Regions from separate parts of the Homo sapiens genome. Here all the other regions are linked to region 3. The links are contacts of gene promoters, found by promoter capture Hi-C in blood cells and fetal thymus (Javierre and others, 2016). All regions are on one chromosome and are shown on one strand. Each heading gives the region's core, a stretch centred on a gene start or on the middle of the fragment in contact. The rest is flanking DNA. Distances are from core to core; before and after follow the strand shown.

Region 1 (4,455 bases), core at 864-3,363, 390 kb before region 3:
GTTGGAAGAAAACAAACAATATTTTGACTAGAAATGGAAATTCCTGATGCTTTGGGAATTGTTTCAGTACTTTTTCTAATACTTTAGGCATTGACTAGAAGAACTGAGACTAGAAAATACTCTTGCCTGTTTAGTCAGTATCACGTATCTTCATCTGTTTGTTGTCGCTGCTGAAGCACACACTTAAAATAATCATCATACATTTATGCACACAACCCCTTCTCCCGTGCCCTATACAAACCTATTAAGCTATTTTTCCGAATCAAATTTGCACAACTTTAAAGAAAAAAAAAAAACCTCACAGAATAATGTGTTTTTCAAGGCAGGCATTTTAAAAGCTAATCCCAACTTGCCCCGTTTTAGGCTTTTACAGTGTTTAACTTGCTTTCTTGGGTAGTTAGTCTGGAAATGAGTTCATCATCTGATATAGGATGGCTGGATTTTAATATTTTCTGTCTCCAATTCGTTTGGTTAAATGCCTAAAGCTGGTAGTCTACTAGTGCTGAAGGAAGAGGGGAAGCATTTATGGCTCATTAGAACCAATCCCCATGGTTTCCAGGTCAGCTGATTTTCTCACTACAATACTTAACAGCAAGATGAGAGGCTTTATTAACATCATGTCAATAAAGCCATTAATAATTCAGAAGAAATTTTAATTACAAACTTAAAAGAATTACATAGTTGTAAATTAGTCTGTCACTAAGTAAAGACTACTACATTTCACTTTGGGAGACCTTGTAAAATGTAAGCTAACTCATTGCTGGAACCTTGAAACAGAGGTCATCCGGATCAACAAGCATGAGTCCGTCCCTTCTGCCAGCTTCTGATCCCCTCATTTGAGTTTATGAGATGAGCCAATAATGAATGTAGAGGCAAGCAGCTCATTTTTCTACCTAAAACTAAGTCTCAGCCTGACACTTTTCTTCTGACCCAGTTACAGCTGCTTCTCTGGTGTGTGCTTCAATCCTCTTCACTGGGCACCATTAAACACTGGACTTGGTAGCTGTCTATGCATGTGACCAATTTCACTATCCATCTTCTGGCTTCAGTGCCAATTTTAAGAATGCTAATTCCTACGTGGCCAGATTTCTATAAAGATGGCAAATTATTTTATTCTGGCTAAAATTAATCATATTATTAATATTTTCTAAAGTTAGCGTTTACATTTACTGCTTTAAAAAAATTCCAGGCTGGGTGTGGTGGCTCACGCCTGTAATCCCAGCACTTTGGGAGGCCGAGGCAGGTGGATCATGAGGTCAGGAGATTGAGACCATGCTGGCTAACACGATGAAACCCCGTCTCTACTGAAAAAATACAAAAAATTAGCCGGGAGTGGTGGCGGGTGCCTGTAGTCCCAGCTACGTGGGACACTGAGGCAGGAGAATGGTGTGAACCCGGGAGGCGGAGCTTGCAGTGAGCAGAGATGCACCACTGCACTCCAGCCTGGGTGACAGAGCAAGACTCCATCTCAAAAAAAAAAAAAAAAAAAATCCAGCAAATATAAAATTTAGGCCTAAAAGATGCCAATGATTTAAAACTCTACACAGATCTAAGATCAATGCCTATGTATGAGTGTAGCTACTGCCACGAGGCATTCTACTCATAGCCAGCCTAGGAAAGTGTGAGCTGAATACAGGTCCTATGCCAAAAAACCTCTGCCTGAAACAGAACTACAGACGTGAGAAGCATTAATAGATGTGCACTGTATTTATATAAGCTTCTCTTTTCAGCATTAAAACAGCTGATCTACTGTGTCAATCTGGTAGAGATCAGTTGGTGCCATATATAAAAACCAACAGGTTAACTGACCAAATTTCTCCAGATTTCAATTGGCTCTATGGGATCAAATAGACATGATAGGTTAATTATGATGAAAACAATAATCTTAACCATGTTTAAGAAAAAATACAAAATTTTAGTGCAAGTACTTATTTACTTCTGTACTCAAAAAGGGTGAGAATCCCAGCTACTCAGAGGCTGAGGTGGTTGGATCACCTGAGCCACAAGTTCAAGACCAGCCTGGACAATATAGCAAGACCCTTGCCTCAAAGAAAATTGAGATTTTAAATTTTGTTTGTGATTTTCTCTAAGTGAATAATGGTAAAATTTAACAAACTAGCATAGTTCAATTTACTGAGCTACAAAGTATAACATTCAGCTGGGCATGGTGGCTCATGCCTGTAATCCCAACACTTTAGGGGGCTGAGGCAAGAGGATTGCTTGAGGCTAGGGGTTTGAGACCAGCCTGGGCAACACAGTGAGACCTCATCTCTATAAAGTTAAAAAAAAAAAAAATTTTAGCATACTTTAATTTATGGCAGGTACTATATATGAGAGCTGAAGTCTTCTGTACCTCCACAATGCCACACTTCTTATTCACAAAGGATGGTTAGAAGCTAGAATACAACTTTTTTGTTATTTATAAATGCTGCCAAAAGAAGAAATGTTTATGGAATTTCAAATGACACAGTTGTAAATTGGCAGTTAGCAGCTTTCCATGTAAAGCTTCATCTCAGCATGAAAAACTTGATTATAGTCAAAACTAGCCAAGGAAAACTCAAGTGTATGATGCCTAAAAGTCTACTGTGTGGCTGTCTGAAAACGTGTATTGTACCATGGTGTTATCCATCCAGCCAGGCTTTTGAAGCTATCTGTAAGAGTCATGTTGTAGGGAGAAACAGCGCCACAATTAAAAAATAATCCAAGTGAGGCCAGGTGCAGTGGCTCACGCCTGTAATCCCAGCACTTTGGGAGGCCGAGGCAGGCAGATCACCTGAGGTCAGGAGTTCGAGAACAGCCTGGCCAACATGGTGAAACCCTGTCTCTGCAGGTGGCAGGCACCTGTAATCCCAGCTACTCAGGAGGCTGAGGGAGGAGAATCACTTGAACCCAGGAGGCAGAGGATGCAGTGAGCTGAGATTGCACCATTGCACCCCAGCCTGGGTGACAGAGTGAGACTCCATCTCAAAAAAAAAAAGAAAAAAAATTCCGAGTAGTATTAAATATACATGTTAGCACCTTTTTTTTTTTTTTAGTTTTTAACCTTTTTCTTTTTTTTTTTTAGTATTTATTGATCATTCTTGGGTGTTTCTCGGAGAGGGGGATTTGGCAGGGTCATAGGACAATAGTGGAGGGAAGGTCAGCAGATAAACATGTGAACAAGGGTCTCTGGTTTTCCTAGACAGAGGACCCTGCGGCCTTCCGCAGTGTTTGTGTCCCTGGGTACTTGAGATTAGGGAGTGGTGATGACTCTTAACGAGCATGCTGCCTTCAAGCATCTATTTAACAAAGCACATCTTGCACCGCCCTTAATCCATTTAACCCTGAGTGGACACAGCACATGTTTCAGAGAGCACGGGGTTGGGGGTAAGGTTATAGATTAACAGCATCCCAAGGCAGAAGAATTTTTCTTAGTACAGAACAAAATGGAGTCTCCCATGTCTACTTTCTACACCTACACAGTAACAATCTGATCTCTTTTCCCCACATTTCCCCCTTTTCTATTCAACAAAACCGCCATCGTCATCGTGGCCAGTTCTCAATGAGCTGTTGGGTACACCTCCCAGACGGGGTGGCGGCTGGGCAGAGGCGCCCCCCACCTCCCAGACGGGGCAGTGGCCGGGCAGAGGCGACCCTCACCTCCCGGACGGGGCGGCTGGCCGGGCAGGGGCTGACCCCCCACCTCCCTCCCAGACGGGGTGGCTGGCTGGGCGGGGGCTGACCCCCCACCTCCCTCCCGGACGGGGCGGCTGGCTGGGCGGGGGCTGACCCCCCCACCTCCCTCCCGGATGGGGTGGCTGGCCGGGCGGGGGCTGCCCCCCACCTCCCTCCCAGATGGGGCGGCTGGCGGGGCGGGGGCTGCCCCCCACCTCCTGGACCGGGCAGCTGCTGGGCGGAGGGGCTCCTCACTTCGCAGATGGGGCGGCTGCCGGGCGGAGGGGCTCCTCACTTCCCAGACGGGGTGGCTGCCGGGCGGAGGGGCTCCTCACTTCTCAGACGGGGCGGCCGGGCAGAGACGCTCCTCACCTCCCAGATGGGGTGGCAGTCGGGCAGAGACGCTCCTCAGTTCCCAGACGAGGTCGCGGCCTGGCAGAGGCGCTCCTCACATCCCAGACGGGGCGGCGGGGCAGAGGCGCTCCCCACATCTCAGACGATGGGCGGCCGGGCAGAGACACTCCTCACTTCCTAGACGGGATGGCGGCCGGGAAGAGGCGCTCCTCACTTCCCAGACTGGGCAGCCGGTCAGAAGGGCTCCTCACATCCCTGACGATGGGCGGCCAGGCAGAAAAACGCTCCTCACTTCCCAGACGGGGTGGTGGCCGGGCAGAGGCTGCAACCTCGGCACTTTGGGAGGCCAAGGCAGGCGGCTGGGAGGTGGAGGTTGTAGCGAGCCGAGATCACGCCACTGCACTCCAGCCTTTCCTGATTTCCCACTCCTCTCTGGGGTTACCGAAT
Region 2 (4,332 bases), core at 1,764-4,263, 500 kb after region 3:
AGTCCCCTCTTTCAATAGGATAACTGGTGTGGGCTAGAAAAGAAAGAAATTAACTGCTTTTAATAATCATCTATTATAATGAGACTGGCAGGGGAAAGGGGAAAATGCTCCCATCTCTCCCTTAACAGAATTATCTAGAGGTCTTCTTAAACCACATTCCCCCAACTGTCTACCACATCCATTCCCCAACCAGCCTCTACCTCCAGAGACACTATCAAATTTAGCCTACCCTGCAGGTATGCTAGACAGGAAAATGGTTTGAGAAGCACTGACCTAATCTAAAAGAAAAAATCATGAGTTCTCCAGTACCCAGCTGAATGACCATGGCCTTTTCAACTTCTGACCTTACTCCCTGTGCTGAGGAATTGGGTCACAACACAGGAGGAAGAGGCAGACCCTGCTAAGTGTTCATTCCGCAGCAAAACATCCACTTGTCTGTGTTACAGCTCAATCTTAGAGAAGCAGATGGGACACTGATGCAAAATGCAAGATGCCAAGAGCTTGAGGTGTTGTCCTAGAGATGCCTAGGCAGTCAGCTTTATGTAACAGTGATGTTCAGCTGCAGTGTAGGAAAACAGGCAGAGAAACAAACAGCACCTTTGCCCTGTTTTGAAAAATGATGGCAAATCTAATTCATACAGCAATGTTTCCATCTCTCATGCTGGCTGAATAAAGCTTCTGTGTGACTAATTTCCAATCAGATACCCCAAAGAAGTTTTCCTCTTTCTATATTGCATTGGTCTCCAGAACATTCCCTATCCCCGTAAGGGCTTCATTTGCAGACCTGCTTTAGAAACTGAGAAACAGGGATACTTGCTTGTTTTAAAGGGCCCGCTCAGATATCTTTGCTCTAGTGACCACCATTATTAGCAGAGAGAGCAATTTCTCAGCTTAGCAAACCAGACTACTTTCTCTCCACATTCAAATCTGAGCCTTCAGAGATAAGCCCACGAACTAGATCCAGTCTTCTCAAGTGTTTCTGGCTAATTTTGTGTGTGACACAGAATGTAGTAAGGATAAATACTATTTCAAAACTTTTATTGTGTTAAATTTGTTACTAGGCTATGATTAAAAATGTATTTCTTACTGTGGAATGCAATAAAAAGTTTGAAAGCCATCACCTAGTCCTTAGAGGTACGTGGATGTCTGAGCAAGGAAGGCACAGGAAAGCACAGAGCTTTCCCAACCTAACAATGAGGAGTGAGGAATTCCTGCCAAAGACAGAGTCTTGCCACTCATGAGGCTGATTCCTTATTAACTGGTCAATTCCTTAAAAAGTTCAACTCTTTTGGCCAGCGCAGCTGGAGGGTAGTAAGCAAGAGGAAGACTGGAATAAAGCTGAAGAGGCAGGCAGGAACCAGATCACATACACACTCGTAGACACACTATGGTGAGGAGTTCAGATTTCATTCCTAAAAAGGAAAGCCCTGGGAAGCTTTCAGCAGAGGAATGGCATACTGTGATTTACATAAAAAACAAAAACCACTGTAGAAAAAAGAGGATCACTTGAGCTCATGGAGTTCAAGACCAGCCTGGGGAACATGGCAAGACCCTGTCTCTACAAAAAGAAAACGAAAAATACCCAATAAACTCTACGGAATAAGAGAGTGGGAGTAATTTAATATATTATTCATTTTTTAATATATATTTCTAAGAGACAGGGTCTTGCTCCACCACCCATGCTGGAGTGCAGTGGTGAGATCATAGCTTACTATAAGCTCAAGCCTCCTGAGTAGCTGGACCGCAATGCATGAGGTACCACACCTGGCTAATTTTTTAAATTTGTATTTAAAAAATGTTGCCCAGGCTGGTCTCCAACTCCTGGCCTCTAACAACCCTCCTGCCTCAGCCTTCTGAAGTGCTAGGATTACAGGCATGAGGCACCATGCCAGGCCCTCATTAAATTTTTTTAAATGCTTGTCAAATAATCATACATTACTCCTTTTATTTTTTATTTTAAAAAGAATGCTTGTCATGTAAACCCCTACATTTGGGATCAGGCGTCAACTGAAGGGAAAATTCCTTCCTTTTGCTGGAGTGTCCCAGGTCTGGTGGCAAGAAATGGCTTCTCTATACTCCCAGCATTCTTTCTGGCTCTTCAGCTGGCCCAGTCCCTGGCACCTTCTGTAAGGGAAAGATGTGTGTCCTGAAAGGCCCTACCATCTCCCAGTCTTGCTAAATCATTCCTTATGGCAGCCCCAAGTCTTCTCTGGTCCACCCCTGCCACGGATGGAGTCTTACACTTTAAATCAAAAACTAACATGAGTCTCAATCACTTCCTATCACCTTCAACAGGTTCTTTCACCTCAACAGGTTAACTTACCCAATGCTTGTGTATACTTTTTCTCACCTCAACCTGCAAAGTGTACCCCCATCTAAAATAGTCACTCTGCCATCTTCTACCAAAACCACTTTCTCACCACCAGGCCACCAATTCCTCAGAGCTCCAATTCTTCCAAGAAGTTTTCTCTACAGTAATAAACAAGGGCATCTGAATAGGGGAATCCCATAACTTTCTCTTCACTTGCCCTTGCTCGCAACTTTTTATCACCATCCAGCTTAAGTACAAGCTTTCCAAAGACAAGGACCAAAATAACCTTAATTTGAAGAGTGCCAAGATTTGGCCACACATGAAGCAATATTCAGCAGCTTTTGGGGCTGAAAATCCAACTGCTACTTGTAAGTGCTTGACAGCACTGGCTTCTTGACTTTTGGGGAGAAAAGCACTGGCACTACAGTAACACTACATTTACTGAGAGTTCTTAAGCACAATGCAAGAAGAGCTTGGAAGCAGCTAACCACAGATTCCCCAGGTTCCCTATGCTTTGCAGGCCCTGAAGAAACAGCAGGCTGGGTAGAGAGCATCTATGGGGTGGAAAAGGTGGCAGAGCTGGATTGAGTCAAGCCAAGACAAGCAGGATAGGTCCTCTTCTAACAGTTCCCCAGCAGCAGGCACTGTATGCAAAGTCCAGTTTCCATCCCTTAGTTACTTTCAACCTCGCTCCTTTTTTTTATTCCTCTAATAAATAAGAAACAAGGTCGGGTGCGGTGGCTCACGCCTGTAATCCCAGCACTTTGGGAGTCCAAGGTGGGTGAATCACAAGGTCAGGTGTTCGAGACCAGCCTGGTCAACACGGTGAAACCCCGTCTCTACTAAAAATACAAAAATTAGCCAGGCGTGGTGGCGTATGCCTGTAATCCCAGCTACTTGGGAGGCTGAGGCAGGAGAATTGCTTGAACCTGGGAATGGAGGTTGCAGTGAGCCAAGATGGTGCCACTGCACTCCAGCCTGGGCAACAGAGCAAGACTCCATCTCGGGAAAAAAAAAAAAGAAAAAGAAACAAGAGCAGACTCCAGTAATTGGCCACAGGTATAATGGAAGGTTTTGGAATTTCAGCTTACTGATCTTCCTCTTCATCCTACTTTAAAACTTTCACTAAGCATCATTAAGCTTAATGGCTTACAAAACAAGTGTGTCTATGCCAAGGCACACAGCGCTCAACGCCACAAAGGCAAGGACATACATTTTATGCAAGCTGTACCAACATCACAGGACTGAGGTTTCAGGGGACCTTTTCACCTCTCTTTCGATTACAGAAGTATTCTAGAATATCAGGGGCCAATTTGAAGACAGGAAGACTCTTGGAGATAGAAGTTTCACATTCCAAAAATGGGGAGGAGATATCAAGAGCCAATACAGCAGGGAAACGTCAATCTGACAGAGGAGGGGTCAGTTCAGGGAAAATCCAAGTGTGATGATCTAGAGCCCACTGGTGAAGTTTTATCACGGCAGAGAATGGCGGTTCTGATCCCTAGCTGTGTGAATGTGAACCAAAGCTCTTACGGAAGCCCTGGCAGCGGGATGGACTGATTTCAGAGATGAAAGGAAGCAAACAACCACCTCGCCGAGTAAGAGCTAACATTGCTGAGTGCTTACTATCTGCTAGGCACACTGACAAACTGAGAACCAGAAATTAAATAACATGCTCAAAGTCACACAGCTAGTAAGTGGCAGAGCTAAGTTACAAACCTAGGCATTCAGTGTAGCTCCAGAGGCCTTACTCTCAACTGCTGTACTATGCTGCCTCTGCACAGAAGATGAAGACGACTTCAAGAATGAGCAATGCTAGAGACATAAAGGGGAGAGGAAGTACTGTTAAATGCTAATTTCCTTCTACCTTGGGTACAAGCGGGATTCATAGGGCATTTGGTAGAACACCTAAAAGGTGTCTGCGTCCCTAACAGGACAGAGAAAAGCTGCAGGAAGCAGGAAAAGAGCAGAAGATAGAGTCGGACAGGCCAAAATGAATAAGTGAACTGCCAAGTGCACAG
Region 3 (4,197 bases), core at 1,203-3,702:
GACACTACACTCAGCTCAACCTCTATCACATAGGTAGGGAATACCCGAGGATGCAGGAAGTGTAAGGGGCAGGGCACTAACCTGTCAGTCTGCTTTTTCCACAAGGACGTGACTGCAGAGGCCTAGAAGCATAACGCGTTTGTTAGGCTCTCCCAAGCTGTGGCTACCATAGGAAAGTGCTGGATCTGTCATCCCAGACCCCATTATGTCACAGGCTACAGCAACCTTCTCGTCCTGCCAGTAGTAAACTCTACCAGTATTATAGTGGCACAGTGAATATCAACAGAACCTGAGCCCTGGCTTACTGAGTGAGGATCTAACATCTGCCACATGGGAGGGAGGTAGACTTAATTGGCCTAAGGTGGCAAAACATCATGACAACTAATAAGATCTTGGTGGGCTGGCACCTTTGACCTATTATGTTCTTACCTGGATCACTGGATCCTGGACTAGGTTGATGCTCCAGACAGACCTGATCAACCTGTTTGTGATGTAGTCCTCCTGGGCCTAGTAAAATGTATTCTGGCTATGGCTCAACAATGTTGTACTGACATTGTGTCTGTGAAGGTGTTACATCGATCTGATAAGACAAACTTCCGCCTCCAGATACTAGGAGGTTGGTGGGCATATGAAACGGACTAGCTTTGCTAAAGGGTATAATCTGGGTTAAGGGCATAGACTGCAGGACAGTTCTCCAGGTGGCCTTGGACCAATTTAGTTCTCTCTCCTTTCTCACTTGTGGTTCTCTAGGATAACTGTAGAATGTGCTGGGAATGTAGCATCCTGTGATAGAGAGAGACTAACCAGACCAGCCAGGGCCCTGTTCCAGTGTCTCCCAGAAATAGAATGTCCTTCATATATATATGTATATATATATATATATATTTTTTTTAATTTTAATTTTTATTTATTTATTTTTTTTTGAGAGGGAGTTTCACTCTTGTTGCCCAGGCTGGAGTGCAATGGCGCGATCTCAGCTCATGGCAACCTCTGCCTCCCCAGATCACGTGATTCTCCTGCCTCAGTCTCTTGAGTAGCTGGCATTACAGGCATGAGCCACCATGCCTGGCTAATTTTTTATTTTTTAGTAGAGACGGGGTTTCTCCACGTTGGTCAAGCTGGTCTCGAACTCCCGACTTCAGGTGATCTGCCTGCCTCGGCCTCCCAAAGTGTTGGGATTACAGGCGTGAGCCACCGCACCTGGCCGAATGTTCTTCATGTTTTAGCCCAGTGTGTCATGCCTCCCCACCTCTTCCCCCTGCCCCTGCCCCCTGCAATTAGGCTGTTGCATTGCCACAAAGAAATACCTGAGACTGGGTAATTTATATAGAAACGAGGTTAAATTGGCTCATGTTTCTGCAGGCTGTACAGGAAGCATAGTACCACCATCTGTTTGGCCTCTGAGGAGGCCCCAGGGAGCTTTTACTATTGGCAGAAGGAGAAGAGAGAGCAGGCACATCACATGGTGAGAACTGGACCAAGAGACTGTGTTGGAGGGTGCCACACACTTCTAAATAACCACATCTTCCTGGCACTCACTCACTATTGCAAAGACACCAAGCCATGAGAGATCCACTTCCATGACCCAAACACCTCCCATCAGGTCCCACCTCCAAAAATGGGGACAATTCAACATGAGATTTGGCAGGGACATATATTCAATCCATCCCTGGACCCCCAAATCTCATGTCCTTCTGACATTGCAAAACATAATCATGCCTTCCCAATCACCTACCAAAATTTTAACTTGTTCCAGCATTAAACTCAAAAGTCCAAAGTGTCACAGGAGACATGGCCCAGAAAAAGAACTAATCCCAGCTCCTTGGGAGGCCAAGGCGGGTGGATCACGAGGTCAGGTGATCCAGACCATCCTAGCTAACACGGTGAAACCCCGTCTCTACTAAAAATACAAAAAATTAGCGGGGCGTGGTGGCGGGTGCCTGTAGTCCCAGCTGCTCGGGAGGCTGAGGCAGGAGAATGGCTTGAACCGGGACGCGGAGGTTGCAGTGAGCCGAGATTGCACCACAGCACTCCAGCCTGAGTAACAGAGCAAGACTCTGTCTCAAAAACCAAAGAAATCTCCAGCAGCGGAAATGTATGTAGAACTCATTTTGGTCAGTACTTTTCCTTGTACAGGAAGAAACTGAGGTCGCCCGGTGCAACGCCCAACACAGGTTAAGACAAAGCCGAGACTCAAAACCAGACCCCAGCTTCCGGTCCCAGCCCATAGATTCTTCCATTTCCTTCGCCGGAAGTGATATACAGCCCCTGTTCTCCTTCGCGTCCGTTGACGGGACCCAGGTTGGGGAGGCGGAAGAATGGGCGGGACCATGGGCGGAAGCACCCCTCCTACCAGGACCCGGAAACAGATGGCCACCCCGAGCCGGCCTATCCGGAAACTGGCTCGAAGAAGACGGGGATTGGCCATCGCTTCCGGAAGTTGTGAGCTTTGTTTCGGAGCGGGAGCTCTTCCGAGACGCACTGGGGGCCGGATGGTGAGTTTTCCTTGCGCTCTAACGGGCAGGCTCGGGAGCGGGAGGGTCCGGGCAGTTTTAGTAGTGTCTTTGGGACAACGGCTGCGGTTGGTATTTCTCAAGCGGCAACGAGGCCAGCCCCTGGGAATGCAGCACGAGAATGATAGAGTCAGGCTGTCCCCTCAAGAAATAGTTTAGTGAGGAGACATGCAGCGGATAGGCGCAGGATTCTTCAGAGTTGTGATTGGGCCCAAAAAGGAGCTAGTCCTCAGACTAAAAAGAGCCGTAGTGCCGGGGTTCTGGGCGCTGTAGTAAATGGACTCCAAATGGAGTTGAAGGGAGGGAGGAGTGCGTCAGGCGGAGATGAAAGGAGAGAGGGAACTACCTGTCCGATAGGGCAGAATCGGGGAGAAAGGTTGGTGACTTGAGCTTAGAGAAGGCCATTGCGGCGGTAGCAGAAGAGGAGAGGCAGGGACCAGATCGTAGAGTGTGGAACACCGTGACACAAAGTTGGGGCTTTATCATAAGAGCAGCAGAATGACAAGATCTGATGTACATTTTGAAAGGATCACTGTAACTGCTGGTGACGACTGGATTATAGGAGGGCAGGAATTGTGAGAAACCACTCAGAAGGCTACTGCTGTAGATGAGCGATGTGACCTAGCGTATGGGAGAGAAGTGGACGAATCAAAAGTATATTTAGCAGGTGAAAATTCAGGACTTTACGGATTAGATATAGGATTTGAGTGACAGGTTGGGTCTCAACGATGATTCCAAGTTTCTGACCTGAGTGAGTAAATTACGCTAAACAAGAACAAACTATTTTGAAGTTTTCTAAGGGTTCTTCCCCCCACTCAGTGTTAAAAAGCACGTTTTTTTCCTTTCTTATTATGTGTACTCATGTTTTGTGTGCTTACTGTAGAAAATTCAGAACATACATAACAAAATATTTTCTTTTATATAAAGGACAATAAAAATCACCTCATAACCTCACTACCCAAGATGGTCATATTTTAGTGTTTCTTTCATGTATTTTAAAAAAATATGTGTATCTTTTTATATAATTGGGATCCTACTGATTATGTCTTTCTGTATCCATTTTTTCCACCTTAGCATGACTAATGATTGAACTGTGTGCCAGGATATCGTTCACAAATATATTTTTTTCTGTTTGTAACAGAAAAAGTCAAATTAATTCTAAATAAGAGATAACATTAACTTTTTGGTGTATTTTCTTTTTAATATTTGTTTAAAAGCCTTTTAAAAAACCCACATTTTGGCCAGTTTGTGTTTTGTTTTCCATTCAGATGTTTTTACTTACTTAATGTTATTTATTGCCGTTTTTACACACCGTCAAGACCACATGTTTTAATGGTTGTTAAATAACAACTAATCCCATCATTAGCTAGATAGGTTATTTGCAACTTTTTACTGTTAAAATAATGAGAGGAACATCTTATATAATTATTGGATTCCTAATGACTTCCATCAGAAAGAGTTCTAGAAATATAATCTGCCAGGTAAAAGGATAAAATGAGTCTCAAATTGCCCCACCAAAATATTTTATTAAGAATTTGATAGAAATTGTTTTAAAGAAATTTTTGCAATACATAGTTTTTCCATTCAAAGATATGGTCATGTCTTTCTGGTTATTCAAGTTGTCTTTTATGTTTCTTTTATGTCTTTATATATAATAACCTATCCTTTTCTTGTTAAGCTTATG

The links. The method cuts DNA at HindIII sites, captures the fragments that hold promoters and counts their contacts. A CHiCAGO score of 5 or more calls a contact.
Region 1: a contact is called between a fragment that was not itself captured here and the fragment with the promoter of TPRKB in region 3, in 1 of 17 cell types (fetal thymus). The highest score is 5.3, in fetal thymus.
Region 2: a contact is called between a fragment that was not itself captured here and the fragment with the promoter of TPRKB in region 3, in 1 of 17 cell types (total CD8 T cells). The highest score is 5.2, in total CD8 T cells.

The regions. Positions count from the first base shown.
Region 1 is chr2:74,123,536-74,127,990 of GRCh38, reverse strand. It overlaps a transcript of TET3 not described here. Among named protein-coding and RNA genes, the nearest start is that of BOLA3, 22 kb to the left of the region's middle. RefSeq lists an enhancer at 3,716-4,418. The HindIII fragment of the contact is 788 bases long and covers 1,720-2,507 here.
Region 2 is chr2:73,235,344-73,239,675 of GRCh38, reverse strand. It overlaps CCT7 (chaperonin containing TCP1 subunit 7), which reads right to left. Exons shown (of 12, transcript NM_006429.4): 2 at 1-33. Among named protein-coding and RNA genes, the nearest start is that of CCT7, 3.2 kb to the right of the region's middle. The HindIII fragment of the contact is 881 bases long and covers 2,573-3,453 here.
Region 3 is chr2:73,735,600-73,739,796 of GRCh38, reverse strand. It overlaps TPRKB (TP53RK binding protein), which reads left to right and starts at 2,452. Exons shown (of 5, transcript NM_016058.5): 1 at 2,452-2,495. RefSeq lists enhancers at 2,011-2,070, 2,111-2,190. The HindIII fragment of the contact is 15,665 bases long and covers 1-4,193 here.